Linked DNA regions of Homo sapiens: all the other regions are linked to region 1. The links are contacts of gene promoters, found by promoter capture Hi-C in blood cells and fetal thymus (Javierre and others, 2016). All regions are on one chromosome and are shown on one strand. The core of a region is centred on a gene start or on the middle of the fragment in contact, and the rest is flanking DNA. Distances in the headings are between cores, read along the strand shown. Region 1 holds the start of LIG4 (DNA ligase 4). Region 2 has its middle 140 kb from the start of TNFSF13B. Region 3 overlaps LOC105370355 (a long non-coding RNA gene).

What was found. Contacts are between HindIII fragments. The CHiCAGO score rates a contact against its expected background, and 5 or more counts as called.
Region 2: a fragment that was not itself captured here is called in contact with the fragment with the promoter of LIG4 in region 1 in 1 of 17 cell types (non-activated CD4 T cells); the score reaches 5.8 in non-activated CD4 T cells.
Region 3: a fragment that was not itself captured here is called in contact with the fragment with the promoter of LIG4 in region 1 in 1 of 17 cell types (monocytes); the score reaches 5.7 in monocytes.

What each region holds. Positions count from the first base shown.
Region 1 is chr13:108,212,916-108,217,035 of GRCh38, reverse strand. LIG4 (DNA ligase 4) reads left to right here and starts at 1,500. Exons shown (of 3, transcript NM_206937.2): 1 at 1,500-1,552; 2 at 2,426-2,498. RefSeq lists a silencer at 1,298-1,437 and an enhancer at 1,281-1,575. The HindIII fragment of the contact is 5,824 bases long and covers 1-3,035 here.
Region 2 is chr13:108,410,853-108,414,972 of GRCh38, reverse strand. No RefSeq gene overlaps it. Among named protein-coding and RNA genes, the nearest start is that of TNFSF13B, 140 kb to the right of the region's middle. The HindIII fragment of the contact is 5,337 bases long and covers 1-4,120 here.
Region 3 is chr13:108,345,874-108,349,993 of GRCh38, reverse strand. All of the region lies in intron 2 of LOC105370355 (a long non-coding RNA gene), which reads right to left. Among named protein-coding and RNA genes, the nearest start is that of TNFSF13B, 78 kb to the right of the region's middle. The HindIII fragment of the contact is 9,906 bases long and covers 1-4,120 here.

The DNA of each region.
Region 1 (4,120 bases), core at 251-2,750:
CTGGGTTCTTGAATCATAGCTTCCTAATCTTGATCACGGAATAAGTGCCAAGCATATATAAAGTAGACCATTTACATAAATAAATTAATAATCATGGCAACTCTAGAAGATACTTAGTGAAAAAAACCCTTGATTGTCTTTGAACCAATCAACTAAAATAACATGATGAAATGGAGACTGGGCTTTGAATCAATTTGGAGTTTGCCTGGTTTCATAATTCATGGTTCTTCTCATGTAACTAATACAAAGTCCAGCTTCTGACATTGTAGGAGCTCAGTAGAGGTTGAACAAGCTACAAATGTACACGGATAGGTACCCTCTCCTAAGATGGGCAAGTGGAGGCTCCTCTACCTTAACACTATTCATTTTTCCTCCAAAATAAATTGATAACTAAATTGAAGAGCAGATACTCACAAAACAATATCATGAGACTTTACAACATCACAGATGATTTTAGATATTCAGGCATATTAGGTCAATTAGACATACGAAGTAAATAACTGAATGTTCTTGGGCTAGACGGAACCTCCGCTACAAACTAGCACTGAATGAAATGTGTCAGTTTTGAAAAAGGAGGTTTTTATACATTACACAACCTCTAAGGGCACTTAACAGCTCTAATATGTTTTATCAGGGCCCACTGCAGCAAAATTTATTTTATTGTAAAGCAATATTTTATGCTAAAATAAAATAGTTCTAAAAGTTGTTTCCACCCCTCTTTATGAATAACTTCTCACTTCTCCATGGCGAAAGAGGACTGACCACAGCAAAAATTCGGTGGAAACCAACAGCTCCTGGAACACAAAAACTGGGGTTGTTTATAATCTCTCCACCCTGAATATCTAGCACCATTACTATATAATAATAGGTGCTCAATAAAGGTTTGTTAAATAACTTTATTTTTAAACCTTAAACAGATACTAGAAGAGTCCATAGTTGATTTCTGGTCATGCAACGGTTTATTTCTATATTGTAAGTTATGTATTGTTATGTATTATTTCTGTATTAAGAGAACTGAGACCACAGTAGCAAACATCATTTAAAAAAAAAAACAGCTCTATATAGTTTGCAAAAGCCTATTTTTTAAAAGTTTAAATGAAACAACCAACGTTTTGAGTTGGGAGGATGTCCTGTTCTCTCTTGGGAGTTTTCACAACCAGCGAAATCAGTATAGTTACCACTGTTTTACGTACAGAGAACAAGAATTAGAGGCTATCACTAGCCAGAGCACAAAGTGATCTTAGGTCTCCCTCGAGACAAAATCCACTGGCGTGTGGATCAACTGCTTGCAGAGAGCATCTGCTGCCGAGGCCAATAGGAGCCGTGTGTACTCAAGACCCTAACCAGGATCCTGCAGGTCCCGCCTCCGCAGCCCCACGGGGCTGCCGGCCCCCCCACCTCCCATCGCGAGCCTGGCTGCGCCGGCGTGCTTGAGCCCGGTGACTGCAAGGCCCCGGGTCTCCCCTGCGCCTGCGCGGCGAGCAGCTGGCGGAACCGGCATCTTCTGGCGCCAGCTTCCGGCTTAGCGGCTGAGCTTCAGGCTTGACGTCAGGTGGGAAGGGTGTGGGGTGGCAGGTGGGGGCGGTTGGGAGGTTGGGGGGGGTTGGGGTGGGGGGGGTGGGGGGTGGCAGATTGACGGTGTGGGGGGAGTCAAGTGGAAGGTGTGGTCCAGCAGGCGGCGAGAAGTCTGTGGGGCAACAGACCGGGGGAAGGTCTGTGGGGCGTCAGGCGGGGTATCTGTGGGACGTCAGGTTGGGGTCTGTAGGGCGTCACGTTGGGGGTCTGTGGGGCGTCAGAGGGGGGAATCTGTGGGGCGGCAGGTGGGGGGTGTTCGGGGCGGGGTTTGGGGTGTGTGTGGCGGCAGGAGGCGGGGGAGGTCTGTGGGGCGTCAGGTTAGGGTCTGTGAGGTGTCAGGCGGGGTTTACGTGGGGTGGCAGGTGTGGGGTGTGTGGAGAGTCAAGTGGGGGGTGTGGGGCGTCAGATTGGGGGTCTGGGGGATCAGATGGGTGGTGTCTGGGACGTCAGGCGGGGGTCGGGGGGTCGTCAGGCGGGGGATGTGTGGGGAGTCAAGTAGGGGAAGTGGGGCGTCAGATTGGGGGTCTGGGGGATCCGGTCGTGGGGGTGTCTGGGACGTCAGGCGGGGGGCCTGAGGGGCGTCAGGTGGGGGGGTCTGGGAGGCGTCAGGCGGGGGTCGGTCTATGGGGGCAGCAAGCAGGGTGTTTGTGCAGCGGCAGGTGATGGGAGTTGCCGAGTCCACAGCGCTGTAGACTGCGCCGCATTAGAAGCCTGGCCTCCTGATGCTGTGCTCTTCATCTAGACCCAAGCCCCAGGTCGTGGGACGATTTCTCCCGTTTTTGACTCCCTGGAACTGTATTGCCTGCTTTACCTGCGTACATGTTGATTCTTTCTCATGGCAACCCCGCAGGAAACCATCAAGATCTCATTTTACAGCTGGGATTCTCTGGTTCACAGAGGTAACGGAGCTTGCCCGAGGCCAGGTATTCACTGGGAATCCGTGAAGGGTTGGGGGAGAGTAGGGGGAACGGGCAGAGGAATGATGTAGACTCCTTAGGGATTTTCCATTTTCCGAGAGGGTACAGGGGGCATTGGAGCGGGAGAGACTTTAGGCTTGGAGGGAATTACTTTATTTCTCTTCTTACACTTGGTCTTTCATTAACTTTTGGGATCCCAAAGCCCTTCTAGCGTCTTTGTCTGCTCATTTCTTTTTGCTGAGATTGTCCCAAATTGTCACTAAGTGCTGTGGAAGATAGGCAGCTGTAAACCCTTTGTTTCCTAGGGAAACACAGCTTGTCAAGGGTTGCATGAAGGATACTTCAGTTGCATTCGTCACTTACTCCTTTTTTTCCTCTCTCTTTTTTAAGTGCAATAGCATAGCACTTAATCACCTTCCATAGTCACTGAATAAAACCTGCCGGTTTATTTTCATGTGTCACTTCAGGACAATTTAGTCAGAACTGAATGAATGATGAATCGTTATTGTGTACTAATTGCTTGCATTCATTCTCCTGAAAGCTTTGCTTATTGTTAAAGAGTGAAGCTTCTTCCCACCTTTTTATCTCGTTAATATTTTGCAATATTTATATTTTAAATGTTGCTTGGATCAGCAAGCATTATAGTATTAAAATTATCAAGACTTACTACTTTTTAAAGCACATTTTGTAGATTATCTGATTTTTATCTTCATTCTAATTTCTACATAGTTTTTAACCCCATTTTATACTTTAGGAAACTGAAGCTTAGAGAAATTAAGTAATTGCCCAGTATCACACAGCTGTTAAATGTTACCATCCACATTTGAACTCAGATTTATTAGAGTCTAAAACCTGAGCCCTAACCAGGAACCTCCTCATTTGTCTTACTGCAAATGGAATGAATCAGCTAAAATCCTCAGAATCCAAAAAATAAAATTAGCATGTAAAAATGAATGGAAGTCCTAATCTTTGACTTTTTATGCCGTTGTAATGAGCAAAAATACTTACGACTAGTTTATGGCAATTTTGGAATCCTTGTTATAGGCGTAGCCATTTTAGGATACATGTGTATCCACACCATTACCTACATTTTGTCATTATAAAGTAATTTAAGTCCTTGCCTGGGATTTGTTGAGCGAAACTTTAACTTTGAGACCATGTAGAATCTATAGATATATCTGTAGAAACTATATACCAATATTTGAATATTAAAGAAATATTAGTTAACCTACTTTATTTTACATAGTTTATATAGAAATTGTAGATATAGCATTGTGTACCCTGTTTACTCCCTTGAGGGAGCAAATTTTGGGAGATAGGGCAGTGAACATACATAACCAGGTGTTACAGTCAGTTATGCAAACCAGATTCAGAGAGAGGAAACAACAGTATATTCAAAGATAAAAGTTTCAGGAAAGTGGTCTGTCATGCGTTTATCCCTCGATCTAACCCACTCAGTAGAAGCTGGGTTTCCTTTGTCAGAAATTAGACTGAGAAGTGCACCTTTTTTCTCTATAGGCCACCAAATGGCTGTTGTAAACCATTGCCAGGGCAGTCAGAGCTACTGAATATTTTTAACCAAACTGAATCTCACCCACTGTGTGTCTGCGTGCGTGTGTGAGTGTGTG
Region 2 (4,120 bases), core at 725-3,224, 200 kb before region 1:
AACACTTGAAAGAGACGTTTTCTTGGAATTCAGTGTACAACATGTACAATATTGGTGGCACTGGATTCATGATGGTTGTAAATCTTTATCTTATATTGAACATTCATCAACATAAAGTATCTCTTTATGTCTTTTAGTATTTTTGCCTTGTATTTAACCATGCATGACTTAATCTTACAATACCTGAATTCATTTTGTATACGTTTATCTGTTAATTCTTTTTCTTTCCTTTTATCCTCAGTATTTATTTATAAGTATGTTCTAGAATTCATTGTTTTGTGTGCAAATGTTTGGCTTCTGTATTTGATAAAGTCAGAAAAGTTTTCCTTTAATTTTTTTGTTTTATCTCATCTACATTTATGGATATGACAAGTGACTTTGATCTCAGCTTTGTCTTCTTTGCTGTATATTTTTTACATTTCCTATTTTTGTTTCTTTCTTTTTTTTTCTTAGACAGAGTCTTGCTCTGTCATCCAGGATAGAATGCAGTGGCACCATCACATCTCACCGCAGCCTCAAACTCCTGGGCTCAAGTGATCCTCCTGCCTCAGTCTCCCAAGTAGTTGGCACTGCAGGTAGGGCTACCACACCTCCCTAATTTCTTTCTTAATTTTTTGTAGAGACAGGGTCTTGCTATGTTGCCCAGGTTGCTCTTGAACTCCTGGCCTCAAGTGATCCTCTGCCCTCAGGCTCCCAAAGCCATTTCCTTTTTATTAATTATTCAAATTTTTCTCTTTTTCTCCATTTTTCTCTATGTTTTTAATTTGGGGCTTGTGTGTGTGCCTTGCTTCTATGTGTTTAGAAGGAATATAGTCTAGGTTTATTTTGTCTTAAAAATTTCTTTTTAAATGTTAATAATATGTGTGCAATACTTTTAAAAAATCCAGAATCTATAAGGAACTTAAACAAATTTACAAGAAAAAAAATTAATAACCCCATCAAAAAGTGGGTGAAGGATATGAACAGACACTTCTCAAAAGAAGACATTTATGTGGCCAACAAATATATGAAAAAAAGCTCATCATCACTGGTCATTACAGAAATGCAAAACAAAACCATAATGAGATATCATCTCACACCAGTTAGAATGGCGATTATTTAAAAGTCAGGAAACAACAGATGCTGGCGAGGCTGTGGAGAAATAGAAACGCTTTTACATTGTTAGTGGGAGTGTAAATTAGTTCAACCATTGTGGAAGACAGTGTGGCGATTCTTCCAGGGTCTAGAACCAGAAATACCATTTGATCCAGCAATCCCATTACTGAGAATATATCCAAAGGATTATAAATCATTCTATACAGACACTGCACACCTATGTTTATTGCCGCACTATTTACAATAGCAAAGACTTAGAAACAACCCAAATGCCCATCAGTGACAGACTGCATGAAGAAAATGCGGCACATATACACCATGGAATATTATGCAGCCATAAAAAAGAATGAGTTCATGTTCTTTGTGGGGACATAGATGAAGCTGAAAGCCATCATTCTCAGCAAACTAACACAGGAACAGGAAACTAAACACTGCTCTCACTCATAAGTGCGAGTTGAACAATGAGAACACATGGACACAGGGAGGGGAACATCACACACAGGGGCCTGTTGGGAGGTGGGGGGCAAGGGGAGGAAGAGCGTTAGGACAAATACCTAAGGCATATGAGGCTTAAAACCTACATGACGGGTTGATAGGTGCAGCAAACCACCATGGTACATGTATACCTATGTAACAAACCTGCACATTCTGCACAAGTATCCCAGAACTTAAAGTAAAAAAACAACAACAACAAAAAAAAAAAACAGCGGTGGACACTGGTGAACAATAGTAAGAACTAAAGATATATTCACCTCTGCTTTTCTTTAAGTTCCAGATGAAGTTATTAAAAAATCATAAATTATTCTTTTTTCCTTTCATCTTCCCTATATCAGTAATATATTTGATTATGTTATTACAATTTGTTTTTTAATTTATTTATGCTCTTAAACTTCAATTAAGTTATTATCTTTAGGTGATTCTTTTGACTCCTCACAATTAGAGATACAAATATTTACACTTCTCTCTTCCACTCCTCTTCTCTTTCCTACTGCCGCCTGAGTTGATTTGGTGTTATGTTATTTACACCATTTATTTCCTGCTCCATACCTTTCTTTAATACTGGATTCAACATGTACCATTAATCCCGTAAGCCGAGCATCTTCATTCATCTCTTAAATAGCTGATTTTATTATCAAGTGCTCTTTTTTCAATAAGACTGTGTGGTCCCTAAAAGCATGAGTTCTTGAAAGTATTCTTTATTTTGATTCTTGAATGACACTTAAGTGGATAAAGCAGGCACTACATATTGCCTGGTCAAGGCATTTCAGAGCTCCTGCCCTCTGTCTTCCTCCTTTGCAGCTAGATGTGGCCTTATGAGACCTTTATGAGTAATGAAGTATAGGCAGGACACTGCTGGGAAATGGGATGTGGTATCAGGGAAAGACAAATGACAGTTGGGACTTCACTGGGCCTTGCACTTTCATCTTGCCTTGGACACAGAGGTGATGCCTGGAGTTGGAGGCAATTGTCTCTCAATCAGTTAATGATGAATGTGTTTGATGACTGGATTGGCTCTTTGAAACTCCATTCCAAACTTCTTTTTAGAAAGGTAAGAAGGCTAAAATCACATTTTCCAGAATCCCTTGAAAGTGTGTCCTGCATGCAAATTTGCCTCCACCAACTACACTAGTACTTAATACAGTGCACTAATGCTGAATTAAGAAATGTTAAACGTCTAGTACTCAGTAGGGTGCACTAAGCCTGAATTATGAAATATTAAAAGTTTAGTACTTAGTAGAGTACACTAAGGCTGAATTAGGAAATATTAAAAGTCAGCATAATCAGAACCAATGAACCATAAATATCCCCAAGTCAAATGGCCATTTGAATGCAACTAGTATTAAATGGTATTTAACTGCATACATCTTTAATATGCTTCTGCAACCAGAATTATCTTTAAAAGGGTTAACCATCCATTTATTTTTAAATAAATAGAAAAAATCACTTTATTCAATAGTTCCAAAAGGTGAATAGATACCACAGCAGAAACGTGGTTTTGACTTCCTGTTGATTTCCCATAAACACAAATAAAACCACATACTGGAGTGGCAAAAAGAGTTGTTTTTGTAAAAAAAAGATTAGGTTAAAAACACCTCAAAACAACATGGTTTTAGTAGTATTAGCCCCCAAATTGGAAAACTATGGGTAATCATTAGGCAACTGCTTTTTCCTGTGTCTTAGCAATCATAAAACCACTCAAAGAACCATTACATAAACAAGAAAAAGAGAGCTCACAGAGAAAAGAAGAGCTTTGTCCCACATTTCTAGCATAGGGAATTTTGATGTCTGTTCTCTATCAAATGATTCCATTATGTATTTAAATAATAGTACACCAAAGATTTTCTTAATCTTTTCAAAAATATAATTTGCCCAAAGATATTATTAATTCCATGAATATTTACTGAGCACCTGACATGTTCCAAACACTATTCTAGGCACTGAGGATGCAGGAGTTAATGAGACACGATCTTTCCTCAAAACTCTCCCATTCTCTTGGAGGGGTGTCTTAGCCTCTGCTGCTGCTCCCCCATGGCCCCATTGCTGTCCAAGCCCGCTGCAAAGTGCATCTGATTCACTCTTGAGCTCCACAGTTCCTGGCAGAGTTGATCTCTGAATCCTTTGCTCCTAAGAAGCAACTATTTTATGTCTCTTGGAACACCCATTAGGACAGGGATCCCCAACACCCAGGCCATGAACTGGTACAGTTCCATGGCCTACTAGGAACCAGGCCACACAGCAGGAGGTGAGTGGCAGGCCAGCGAGCCAAGGGTCATCTGTATTTACAGCCGCTCCCCATTGCTCACATAACCACCTGAGCTCCACCACCTGTGAGATCCGCCCTGGCATTAGATTCTCACAGGAGCTGAAATTCTGATGTCAGCTGCACATGTGAGGGATCTAGGTTGCATGCCCCTTGTGAGAATCTAATGCCTGATGATCTGTCACTGTCTCCTCTCATCCTGAGATAAGACCATCCAGTTGCAGGAAAACAAACTCAGGGCTTCTACATTCTAGAACTGTATAG
Region 3 (4,120 bases), core at 1,179-3,678, 130 kb before region 1:
TTTATGTAGAAAGTCATTGTGCCAGCACCACTTTTTAAATAAGCTACCCTTGCCGGGTGCGGTGGCTCATGCCTGTATTCCCAGCATTTTGGGAGGCCGAGGCAGGTGGATCACTTTAGGTCAGGAGTTCGAGACCAGCCTGGCCAACATGGTGAAACCCCGACTCTACTAAAAATACAAAAAAATTAGCCAGTCGTGGTGGCACATGCCTGTAATCCCATCTATTCGGGAGGCTGGGGCAGGAGAATTGCTTGAACCCAGGAGGTGGAGGTTGCAGTGAGCTGAGATCTCACCACTTCACTCCAGCCTAGGTGACAGAGACTCCGTCTAAAAAAAAAAAAATTAAGCTACCTTTTGCCACTGAACTAGAATACAGTTTTTTGTCTAATATTTTATCTCATGTATACTGGGCTTTGGTCCTTGCTTCTATTTGGTTAAAACTATTTGGTGTACTACTTGGTTAAACTAATCTATTTATCTATCCCAATGCCGTATTAAGTTGACTCCAGTGGCTTTGCAGTATTTGCTGACATCTGTTAAATATGTTTTAAAAAGCATTGTCATGGCTATTCCCAAAGTTTTGAATTTTCATATGCATTTTAAGATCATTTTATTCAGTTCTAAATTGGGTACACTCTGCTGGATTTTAATTGTAATTTCATTAAATTTTTATATGAATATTGAGGGAATTGACTGCTAAGGTATAAATAACACTCTGAATCTTGACTGGCTTTTTGAAAATGTCAGATACATTTTCATTTCTTTATTAAAAGCCTTATTAATACGTTTGCCAAAAGGACATGACAAATCATAGCCATTCTGGACATCCTAAGGGCGTTTGCCTTTTTATAGCTTTTTGAGAACAAGAAAAGAATGATAAATGTTAAAAAGAAATAGTGGTGGGGAATTTCTTGGTGGCTGACAATCACTTAACTATTATCACTTTACACATCCTCCAAAACACTGTATAGGTCACCAGCGAAAACAAATAAAACCACACTAATACTATGCCTTCAGAAAAATGACATAATAGAAAACACAGCAAGTTCAACAATAGTAATATGTCAGAGCTGAAACCAATCATATCCACCATATCCACATTTTCAACTCGGCTCACAAGGCAAGAGCCAACCACACGCTACACGCAAGAGACACACCCAAAACAAAGTGACTCAGAAAGACTAAAGGGTCTACAAAATGCACAAGGCAAATAGAATCAATGAGAAAATCGGGATGGTGGTCCTGACAGCACCCAGAAGAGAATTTGAGTAAAAACATTCAGTGGGACAAATTAAACACCATTTAATCATTTTAAATATTTCACATTAATATATAGAAGGTATTCATACTTATGCACCAAGTAACACATCAACTTGTTCATAAAGTGGAAACTATGAGAGATGAATGATAGACAGAAACATATTCTCGGTGTGAGAGATATCAGATGGACAAAAAATACGGAAGGGTATTAAAGAGCCCCAAGTACAAGCCTAGACAGTTTCCCCTTAACCACACACACACACACACACACACACACACAGAGAGAGAGAGAGAGAGAGAGAGAGAGAGACATATACACCCATATAAACTATGAGCAGAAAGTAACAAAGTGTTAAAAAAGAAAAGAAAAGAAAGTGTCAGGGTAATAGGACATGTCAGAAGAGTACAGGAGCCAGCTGAAAGTATCAACAAAGGCCAAAGCTGAAACACTTTGAGCATTAAGTAATGTCGGATTATAACCCAAATATAAACATCCACGGATTCAAAAGATATAAATGGTTGAATAAATTAATAAATATGAGAGAAGAGACAAATCTCTCATACAGTAAAATTTCCCATAATTTATGTAGATACCCGCCCCCAACCCCTGCAAAGAGGTGAAGCCTAACTTCGCATTCCTTGGTGTGGGCTGCACTTAGTGACTTCCTTCCTGGTGCTCAAGGCCAACATTAAGGGTTAAAAATCATGTTGATAATATCTCCACTGCATAGGATGTGATAACAATGCGACTTTTACTCTGTGGTCTTCCCCCCAGTAACTCCTCATCCCACTCTTCTCATGAGAAAAACATCAGACAAATCCCAATAGCAGGCATCCTGCAAAATCCCTGAGCAGTACTCCTCAAAACTATCAAAGTCATTGCACACAAGGAGCAAGGAACATCTGAGAAACTGGCACAGCCACAAGGAGCCTAAAGGGACAGACACCCAGATGCCATGTGGTATCCTGAATGGGATCCTGGAACAGAAAAAGGATAACAGGTAAAAACCAAGGAAACCCGAGTAAAAGATGAAATATGGTTCATAATCCATCATTCTGAGCAAACTATCACAAGGACAGAAAACCAAACACTGCATGTTCTCACTCATAGTTGGGAACTGAACAATGAGAACACTTGGACACAGGGCGGGGAACATCACACACCGGGGCCTGTCGGGGGATGGGGGACTGGGGGAGGGATAGCATTAGGAGAAATACCTAAAGTAAATGACGAGTTGATGGGTGCAGCACACCAACATGGCATGTGTACACCTATGTAACAAACCTGCACGTTGTGCACATGTACCCTAGAACTTAAAGTATAATAATAAAAAAAAGAAATATGGTTCATAATAATATATCAACATTGCTTTAGTATTTGTAACATATGGTACAGAGTATATAAAAACTATATTATTTTCTCTTTTTTTCTGTAAATGTAAAACTCTTCTGAAAAACAAATTGTACTATAAAGAAAAAAAAGAAAGCATGGTGACTTCGAGCTACTGAAGGGTTCAGATTCTAATGCAGTGTTTCCCAGTTCCTACTAAGATATTTTCCCGGATTTGTTGCTGGCAAAATATGCCCAGGTTTTTTGTTTGAAAAGGAGTTTTTGGTCTGTGAGAGATAAGACAGGAGGTCCATTTGCAAACAGTTCCTTAAAGCAGGTAACTGTTCACTTCCTTAGGAAGGCTGGCCTCACGTGAGGTCCTGTCCTAAATAAACATTTTGTTATTGTTGGTGTGTATGAATTCATTATTACTGACAGCCAGGGAGTCATTTGGTGATTAAAAAACAACAGGATGGAAGGTCATTTTTATTGGCATTATGTACTTAATCATGCAGTCAATGGCTTTTATAGTTAAGCAGTAAAATAAAGCGCCATCAATTGAACAGAATATACAGAATGCTCCAATTGACAAAATCGACACATTTTCATGCTACTGCTGCCTTTTCTCTCTTCTTCCTTTTGCAGGTAAACTTACTGAATGAAGTGAAATCTGCTCAACACCCCCACTATCTTATCTTCCGCATTTATTGATCTCCAGCAATCAGCCTTGTGCTCCTGCAGGATTGAAGCTGCCCCCACGAAGGTCAACCACACCGAGGCTGCTCTCTCCCTCTGAGTTACACGCCTCCCTTTCACACTTCTTTCTGAGTCACCGGGTCTGCCGCACCTGCACAAGGGCCATCCTTCCTGTCAGCTCTGCCTGCTCAGCATCTGCACAGCCCATTCGCTTCTCCCCTCTCTCTCCATGACTGCCAAAGTTCAAGCCCTCTTAACTAATTTTCTTTTCCTCTCTCACTCCGACAAACCATCTATGGCAGTGATTCCAATGTAATCTTAAAAGTAAATGTATACCTATGTAACAAACCTGCACGTTGTGCACATGTACCCTAAAACTTAAAGTATAATTTAAAAAAGTAAAAGTAATAATATCACTTTATCATTCACAATAAATCCCTTATTTAATTCCCATTGCCTCCCAGTAAGGTTGAACTCCTTAACATATCATATGAGGACATAATGAATAAACACCTTTTCCAGGCAGATTTAAGCCCTCTTATTACTTATGTCCCCGCTTCCCCATCCCAACACTTAATCTTTTGTAAAGTTTCACCACACTGTCTGTACATTTCTTTTTGTACAGGAATATAGAAATACCAGAATTGAGGTGATCAAGGATATGTTAGAAGTTTTAACCTCAAAATTGTTGAAAGAATGGTTGGTTGAATTAATTTAAAAACCTTGAAAACTTTTAGAATTACAGATATTAGATAAGAACCACCTCAGTGTCTTGAGAATAATACACTGCCTACCACTCACTGGGATAAAATATAAAACGTAAGACTCCCGACC